2 separate regions of the Homo sapiens genome follow, and region 2 is linked to region 1. Evidence: promoter capture Hi-C in human tissues and cell types (Jung and others, 2019). All regions are on one chromosome and are shown on one strand. The core of a region is centred on a gene start or on the middle of the fragment in contact, and the rest is flanking DNA. Distances in the headings are between cores, read along the strand shown. Region 1 holds the start of IRS2 (insulin receptor substrate 2). Region 2 has its middle 71 kb from the start of LINC00399.

Region 1 (4,588 bases), core at 1,232-3,731:
TCGTCTGCCCCCAGGTTGCTGCTGGAGCTCCTGTGGGAGCCGATCTCGATGTCTCCGTAGTCCTCTGGGTAGGGGTGGTAGGCCACCTTGGGAGAGGACGCGGGGCAGGACGGGCAGAGGCGGCCCGCGCTGCCCGAGAAGGTGGCCCGCATCAGGGTGTATTCATCCAGCGAGGCAGAGGAGGGCTGGGGCACCGGCCGCTGCCGGGCTGGCGTGGTCAGGGAGTAGGTCCTCTTGCGCAGCCCTCGGTCCAGGTCCTGGGCCGCGTCCCCCGAGACCCGGCGGTAGGAGCGGCCACAGTGGCTCAGGGGCCTGTCCATGGTCATGTACCCGTAGAACTCACCGCCGCCGCCGCCGTCTCGGGCCGGGGGCGTCTCCGCGATGGACTCGGGCGTGTTGCTTCGGTGGCTGCAGAAGGCGCGCAGGTCGCCTGGGCTGGAGCCGTACTCGTCCAGGGACATGAAGCCGGGGTCGCTGGGGGAGCCCGAGGCGGAGGCGCTGCCGCTGGAGGGCCGCTGGCCGGGGCCGTGGTGCAGCGGATGCGGCAGAGGCGGGTGCGGGCCGGGCGGCGGCGGGTAGGAGCCCGAGCCGTGGCCGCTGCTGGACGACAGGGAGCCGGGGCTGGTGGCGGCGGGCGGCGAGTGCGCCACGGGCATGGACATGGAGCGGCTGTGTTGCAGCGCGCCCCCTGCCGGCAGCAGCGCCACCTTGCTCCCGCGGCCGCCGCAGCCGCCGCTCAGGGTGTGCGAGCGGCTCAGGGGCGCGCGCACCGGCCCGGGGCTCAGGGGGCTCCCAGCCACCGACACCGGCCTGGCGCCCGCGGCCGCCGCTCCCGCCGCCGCGCCGCCGTCGCCCTCGCTGGCGGTGCGCACCCGGCACGAGCTGCACTTGGCCGCCGGCGGGGTGGCGGCCAGGCTGTCGGTGCGCGAGCGGCGCACCAGGCCCGTCTGGCTGGGGGGCAGGTTGACCAGGTGGTGGTGGCGGCGCGCGCCGGGGACGCTGATGGGGTGCGTGGCCGACGACCCCGACGATTGGCTCTTACTGCGCGGCCGGAACTCGAAGAGCTCCTTGAGCGCCTTCATGGCCTCCAGGATGGTCTCGTGGATGTTCTGCGCCACCACCGAGTCGTCCGCCTGCATCCACAGCTCGCCGGGGCCTGTGACGGCCGAGCGGCCCACCTCGATGAAGAAGAAGCTGTCCGAGTGGCCGCAGCGGCGGATGTTCATGAGCTGCAGCGTCACCGACGGCTGCTCGCAGTTGAGCTTCACGAAGCCGATGGTGCGCGCAGACAGGCACAGACGGTACACCCCCGTCAGGTTCTTGCTCTGGCCCAGACCCTTGGGCTTCAGGTTCACCTGCCACACCTCACGGTAGGCGGCCGTGGCGGGAGCCACCAGCCCGTAGCTGTCCTCGGCCCCGGCGGCGCCGGCAGAGCCGCCCAGGGCGCCGGGCAGGGAGGCGCTGCAGGACGCGGCGGGCGCGGCGGCGGGGGGCGCGTCTCCGGCGGCCGCGCGGCCCTCGCTGACCAGGTCGGTGAGCGCGCGGTACCAGCCCTCCTGCTCCTGCTCGTTCTCGGCGGCCACGGCGAAGTACTCGTCCTTGGTGTAGAGGGCGATCAGGTACTTGTGCTTGGCGTCGGCGCGCTTGTTGATGTTCAGGCAGCAGTCGAGAGCGATCACCCGTTTCGGCGCGCCTGCCTTGCTCCGCCACTTTTTCTCGCTCTCGTAGTACTCGAGCCGCGGCGGTTGCGGCGCCGACCCCCCGCCCGCCGTCGCCTCGTCGCCGCCCGCGCCGGGTCCGCGCAGCACGAAGAAGCGCTTGTGGCCATGCTTCTGCTTGCGCAGGTAGCCGCACTTGCGCACGCTGTGGTTGTTGTTGTTGTTGTTGTTGTTGAGGTTGGGGCCGTCTCCGCTCGCCGGCCCGGGCGGCCCGTGCCGCGGCGGGCTCGCCATCGCGGGCGCTTCAGGCCGCGCGGCCCGGGCCCGGCGCCCAGGGGTTGGGGCGAGGGGCGGAGGGGGCGCGGGCGGGGGCGGCTCCCTCCCACCCTTGCGCCCGGCCGCCCGCCCGATCACGCGTCCCTCGGGCCCAGGCGGTGGGGAAGGTCCGGGGAGGCCCGCGGGGGCCAGCACCGCTCGGCGGCGCCGCGCCCTCCGCGCTCTGGGGCTCCTGAGGATGCCCGGCGCGGGCGGTGGCCGCCCCCCTCCCCGGCTGCCTGCGGCCGCTGCCTCCTCGGGCTCTCGGGCGGCGCCGGGGGACGCGCTCGCTGGGCCGGGAGTCGGGGTCCCCGAGCCGCGGGGCCGAGCCTAAGGCGCGCGCGGCCGCACCGGGGCTGCTGCCGCCGCGTCGCGCTCCGGGAAGCCGGGGTGCGCCCGGGCGCTCGGGGTCCGCGCCGCCGCCGGGGCTGCTGCTGCTGCTGGTGTTGCTGCTGCTGCTGCCAACGGCGACCCGGGCTCGTCGCGGTCCCCGCCGCACAGTGAGTAACACATCGCGCACCGAGTGACTGAACTAAGAAGAGCAAAACAACATGTGACTCGGCGTTACGCAGGCACACACAGCGCGGCCGCCCCGCCCCGCTGCCTCGCATTGGCGCCGCGCCCCCCGACGGACGGCGCGCTCGGCCAATCGGCGCGGCGCTCGCGGGGGCGGGCCGCGCGCCCCCGCCCCGCCCCCCTTTCTCCCCGGGCCGCGTTTCCCGCCGTCCCCTCCCCCTCCCGCGAAGGCCCCGGCCCGGCCGGGCGGGGTGGGGCGGCCCCGGCCTCATTAATCAGCGGCTTGTTGTGGATGCCGGCGGAGGAGATGCCACCCAGGGCGGGAAAAGGGGCGCGGAAGAGGGGCGGGGCGGGCCACGGCGCGCAGGGCCCTTCCCTCCCGCCTCGGACTCAATTAATTGGGCTTGAGCTTCCGCCGGGGAGGGGGCGCCGGGCGGGGCCGCGGCTGGGCGGGGCGGGGGATCGGGATCGGCGGCGGGGGCTGCGGCCTTGCAGTGGAAGCATGGGCGGCGAGCCGGGCCGTGCTCTCGGGGCGCGGGGTCCCCATTTTGGGCGAGGGCGGCCGCTCCCGCGCTCGGGGTGGGCGCGCCCCATCCCCGTCCCCCGTTTCCCGTCCCCGTCTCCCGGCCGCATCTCCGTCCCCCCGCAGCCGCGAAACGCGGGGAGGTTCCAGGGCCCGCGGCCGCGGGTTCGCGAGCACCGCGCTCCAGATCGAGAGCGGCGCGCGCCCTTCCGTGGAGGACAGAGGGGCGCGGAGGGGGCGCCTGTGTCCCACCCGCTCGCGGGCGCTTTACGGGGCGTCCTCTGCGCCATTCACTTGTCAGCTTGTCGGGAAGTTGAAATCGCGTTTGGGAGGTAATAGGAGAAAGAGATCGGGGACGGCAGGCGGAGAAAGTGCGGTTTCCATAGCGCCGGGGAGAGGGCGGACCCGCGAGCCAGCGGTCCCTGAGCCGGGAGACCGCGCGGGCGTCTCTCCAGCCCCCGCAGGAGCGCCGCCTTCCTTCCGCAGGGGCGTCCTCTCCCCCCACCGCTGCAGGAGCACCCCCTTCCTTCCTCGGAAGCGTCCTCTCACCACACCGCTTCAAGAGCCCCCCCTTCCTTCCACAGGGGCGTCCTTTCCCCCTCCGAGGCAGGAGCGCCCCTTTTCCCCCCACAGGAGCGCCCTCCCCACCCCAGGAGCGCCCTGCGCCCAGCAGACGGGCAGGTGGGCGGGCGTCCACTACCTGTGTGCGCGGTGCGGGCGGTGACTGCCAAGTTGGAGATGCCCTTGGAGAACTGCTTCGAATTCATGTATCTACTGGGCTTTTGTGACTTTCAAAGCCTATAGCAAATAAGCACCCCTGCAATTACGTCTCCTCAATGACCAAGTCAGGGTGAGGTGAGGGCTTCCTGAGTTCAGATCCCAGCAAGCTCCCGATCCTGCGCAACGAAGAAAACTCAACAAAACAGGCTTTGGCTGTTTATTTTATTTTTTTTTTAATTGTGCCTTCATGAAATAATTTACAGCAATAATTTATCTTATAATATTGGTTATTGTTTTTAAGTCCCGGATGTTTACTTTTGGATGTCCTCTATAATTCATAGAAGTATCTTAAAAGTAATAAAATCTTAATCTAAGAGAAAATAAGTGTAATTTTTGAAAGAGTGATATATATTTTAATATGTTTTTGTAACATGTGACTTGAAGATTGTGTTGGCTAATTTTATGTGCCAAGAGAGCCCTGACTAGTACAAAGATTATAGCGTTTTTATTTTTAGCATGTATACAGTTAGGATTATTGATCAGTAGCCTGAATTTGGGAAGAATAATCATTGTGGCAAATATCACCCAGTGTGCCTCAAAAAGGTGTGTTTAAAGTTGATCTTCCATTTTTAAATCATACCTTAAAAAAAAATACCTCAAGAAATGCCATTTTAAGTCTGTGCACCTATGTGTGCATGTGTGCGTGTTTGTTTATATAATAGATTGTGTGATTGTGTGTGTATAGGTATGTGTGTATGATTGTGTGTGTTGGGGGCGCCACCTTTATGAACATTATGCTTCGGCGTTCTTTTTAGATCTTGTTACCTTTTCTTACGTTCACAAATGTTGCCTAGCA
Region 2 (4,588 bases), core at 848-3,347, 310 kb before region 1:
GAAGCAACCCAGTCTGTAGCAATTTGTTACAGTAGGCTGAACTGACTGAGAAATTTTTTTCCGTAATTTCATTACGTGTTTGGCATACTTCTCCCAACATTGTGAGAAATCCTTTTTAAAATGTTGTTCCTTGTTTTTCAAGAATTTTTAGGGTTTTTTTTTTTTTTTAGTTTTTAGCCAAATTTTCTTTTGACATATGATATATACTATGGATTTAAATAATTTTCTCTCCATTCCTCTTTGCTACATAATAACATTTTAAACATATCTAGTTAAGGATAAACTTTAGTCCAGCTCCTTCTAATTCAGAATTATTATAGCTCATCCAAAGTACTGAGGTGTTGTGTGTGTAAAATAGTATCATGAACAGGACGGGGGCACAGTGAGATCAGCCCCTGTCAAGTGATACCTGGGAATCTAGCAAGGTGAGCGCACAGTCTTCTCGTGGATTATGTTGTATTTGCGGCTACCTGTGGGCCTCTAGGGTCCCTTTTTGTATGATGTCCTTCAAATAAACATTGTCTCCATATGAATGACACAGGAATCTGGGACAGTTTCTCCTTGTACACAACATGATCATTCTACAAAATCGTATCTAGGAAGGAATCTAATGTTTAACAGCAAGATTTCCCCACAGCCACTGTTAGATAAATCTCCGTCTGGTCATACAGAGGGGAGGCTAGAGAGAAGTGAAATTGTAAGCATGAAAACACACATCTCACTTCTCATCTGGACTCTAGATGGAAGTCAAAGATGACAACAGTAGTCTGACATTCTTAAGTCGTATCATTTGTTAATTTATTTATATTTGCTGGTACCCTTCCTAGATTCTTACACACCCTGCCCAGACTCTTACACACATGACCCTGTGAGGACATGCATGTATTTAAAATAAGGTGAATGATACCCAGGGTGTAGTCTGTGCTTACGGAAGTACACACGCCTGACCCAAGGGAATGTCGAACTTCATTCACGGCTGAGCTGACTGCACCAAAATGGTGGCTCAGAGCTGTTTGCAAAGTTATGCTTTAGAAACAGACGCGAATGGGGGCCAGGTTAGGCCACATGTAGCTGAAACTTCATGCACCAAAAGTACATCCTTTTAGATGAAGTTGAGCTTCAACACAAGTCTGAGCTTTCTGCTAACGACACTGATAAACCATGTGCTGTCAAAAAGCGCATTCCTGCAGCTGACTTGAGATCATTAGTTTCCAAATGCCTCATAATAAACCTCATTTGTATTCTTTCTTTTTCTCAGGGAATGAAGTGGATCTTGGCCCATTTCTTTTCATTTATTTGAACTAAAAATTAGGTCTCTCATTTGTTTTACTGCTTTCATTTTTGAGAGAAGAAAATGATGAATGCATCCATGAATTTTTTCAGCAAAGAATGGCAATAAGAATTCTTCACTGCCCAACATATATCCATTGTATTTCTAACTCCCTTTTTCGCTGTTGGATTAAAATTTGCTTTTATGAATATGAATACCGCCATTTCCTTCTAAAAAAAATTGTTCTGTTTTCTTTGTTCTATTTTCTCGGCTCAGCTGACCTTGTACTTTAAATATGATGGTGACTTCATTCAAATAATGTTACAAAAGCTAAAATGGAAAATGAAAATAAAAACTGTAAAAAGAAAATTGAAATATCAGTTTCTGTTTGCTTGTATTTAAGATTTAAGAATGTTTTTGAATAACGAATGCATTGTAACTGGAATATCAAACTCAGGCAATATTGAATCCTGCTTTTAAAAAATGTCCTTCAAGTTTTAGTTGCCCCCTTCTCAAATGCAAATCAGTCACTCGGCGCATCTTTATCTATTATGCTAGTTACCATGATAGATGTTGGCATTACAGCATCAAACAAAACAGACAGAAATTCCTGAGCCTATGCGTTGAATACCCAGATGGGATCTGTCTTATATATCCATCCAATGTTCTGTTTCTGTAGCCCAGGGTATACTAGTATCTCTTATTTCCTTTCCTTTCAGCCTGGTTTTGAAAGAATTTTAATAGTGCATACAACTGAAACCAGGTTAAAGATATCCTGAGACCATGGCTGTTTACAGAAAACTTTGTAATGTTTACGATCCAGTTAAGCTGGGCTGTGGCTGAGGCTCTTGACACATGGTGCCCTCTATATTTCTATAAAAGGGAGAAAATATATTGTACTTCTGGTCCTTCAAGTCATGGTTTAGGCTGAGACAAGCATTCTTTAAAAAAAAAAATCACCTTTGATAATCTAGTATCTACAAGCCAAACGCTGTCATGTCTAGCATTTAAGTATTTTAAAGATTAAACAATTTATCCTCAGAAAGAAAATAAGAAAACCATTGTTGTGTGTTTACCAGGCCTGTCCTAGGCCTATTCACACGTGTTATCCAAATTCAATTATTGCAGCCACCATTGAGATTATATTTTTTACACTTGTGAATACTTTGCTCAAAAACCACACATCTAGAGTCATGATGGATTCCCACAAGGGCAAGACCAGGGAAGGGGAGGACCGCTGGCCTTCAGGGAGTCCCTGGTAGGAATGGTAGCCTTTCCCTCTGTGGATCCAAGGAGGGCCACAAATCTCTAAGGCACAGATCCAAGGCAGAAAGTCAGACCTGAATCCAATTTCATGCTTAGGTGGTCAGGACAGAAGAAAAAAAAGAAGAAGAAGAAGGGGAAAGGAGCACCTTGTTAGACTTCCATTTGCCCATGACACTCTCTAATATGAGGGGTATGATCAGAAATAGGACACAGTCCTCGGCAATGTGCCTGACAAGCAGGGGATGAAGACAGCCAGTGCCTGTTCAGAGACGCAGAAAGACAGAAGCTTCAGACACCCCCTGCCTGGAAAAGCGAGGGACCGGAAGACAGTGGGCTGAGGTACGCCCAATGATCACTAGTAGTAGATGGAATTTGTCTGAAGCTAGGAAAGAACTGAGAATCAAAACTCAAACCCGTGTTTGCCAAATGTGACACCCGACATGAAATGGAGGCTACCATGCTTAGCTCCATCTAAAGGAGGTGTAGTGAGACCAAATGCTTGTTAAGCCCTGACAGGCAGCCTTGTGCTGTGCTGGAGCTGGCTCAGTTCACCAAATGAACTCAAGAAACGGGAGCCCGGTCTTGTATATGGAGTCATAAAGGAGAAATGCTGGGATAACTTGGAGGGAGGCTGAAAATCTAAACAAGTTTTTAAGCTGTTCTTGTCATTGCTGATGGCATGTTTCTGAGGACAGGGGCCAATGAGTGAAGGAAAAAGACTGAAGGAAGCTTCAGGAGGAGGATTCCGGGCTGTAATTGTCTTGCCTTTTGGAGTTGTGTTTCATTCTCAAGTGTTTAGCTCTGCAGCATTCTCCCTTCCTTGCATAAACCTTTTTCACCATGGCTGAGTGGATTTGTTTTTTAAATTAAAGTGCATTAAAATACATTTTGTTGATAATAGATTGAAATGTTTATATAAATATAATTACAAATGTACTTTTCTGTCACAAAGCAAGAATGGAAATCACTAATGTACCAATTTAATGCTGCTGTGAATAAATATAAAAAGAATTTAGCTGGTAGGCTGAAAAATCTTTACCCACATTTGAAAAATTTTGTAAATAAAGCTAAACACTCATCAGTAGCTTTGTACTTATTTTAAAATTTGTATTGATACATAACTGAACCTGTTGATGGGGAAAGTGTGATATCTGGATGTTCACATACAATGTGTAATGACCAAATCAGGGTAATTATCACCTAAACAATCACCTAAAACATTTATCATTTCTTTGTGCTGGGAACATTTAAAATATTTTCCTCTATTTTGAAATATATGATAAATTATTGTTGACTATAGTCGCCCTACTGTGTTATCAAACACTGGAACTTATTTTTTCCATCTAATTCTATGTTTCTACCCATTAACCAACCTCTCTTCACTCCTCCCAGCCTCTGGTAACTGTCAATAAAAGCATTACCTTGACTGAAGTGTGTTTCTCTTTGTCCGTCTTTCCAGAAGACAACCCTGGCACGGGAGGTTTTCTGGTCTTACTGGTGGATATCCATTTTTGGCAGCTTTCTGACACTGTTTCATAATTTCTATGGCCTGCTATTTGCTTTTCTGTTAATGTCTGTATATATTTTCTAACTTGGAACCAACCAGACGGGCCTCCTTATCCAAAGTATTTCATGCTGAGATGCTGAAGGGGAAAATGCTCTTCCAGCAATTGCTTGGCCTCACTCCTCTGAGGCTAAACCATTCTGTCAGTTGTTACATCTGGCACACCTCTGTTCGGTCGCATTTCATCTGGCTTTATTCAATTCTAATTCAGCAGCTAATTCTACTTGAAGAACGAACACAAGATGGAGTTGGTCAGATTTACCATAGTATATGAAGACAGAGATGTGGGGACCTAGGCACTGTCCCTTCTGAATCCATTGTTAAGTTGACAAAATAATTTTGTATGAAATGCTAGCAGTCAGGGTAGTTGGCCACGTTACGTAGTCAACAGGAAGGTCAGGCAAAGGGGACAGGGGAGCAGCACATTCAATGATTAAGCTTTTGCTGTTCACATACATTTTCATGGATCACAATTTCAATTAAAAACC

Evidence for each region. The method cuts DNA at HindIII sites, captures the fragments that hold promoters and counts their contacts. A contact is called where the count stands out against the background at its distance.
Region 2: a contact is called between a fragment that was not itself captured here and the fragment with the promoter of IRS2 in region 1, in 1 of the 25 tissues and cell types used here (lymphoblastoid cells).

Annotation. Positions count from the first base shown.
Region 1 is chr13:109,784,102-109,788,689 of GRCh38, forward strand. IRS2 (insulin receptor substrate 2) reads right to left here and starts at 2,482. Exons shown (of 2, transcript NM_003749.3): 1 at 1-2,482. The coding sequence starts at 1,952. It overlaps LOC124903211 (WAS/WASL-interacting protein family member 1-like), which reads left to right and starts at 2,983. Exons shown (of 2, transcript XM_047430835.1): 1 at 2,983-3,344; 2 at 3,499-4,588. The coding sequence starts at 2,992. The coding sequence ends at 3,736. RefSeq lists an enhancer at 989-1,618 and silencers at 2,460-2,689, 2,710-2,879. The HindIII fragment of the contact is 26,611 bases long and covers 1-4,588 here.
Region 2 is chr13:109,469,709-109,474,296 of GRCh38, forward strand. No RefSeq gene overlaps it. Among named protein-coding and RNA genes, the nearest start is that of LINC00399, 71 kb to the left of the region's middle. The HindIII fragment of the contact is 3,607 bases long and covers 295-3,901 here.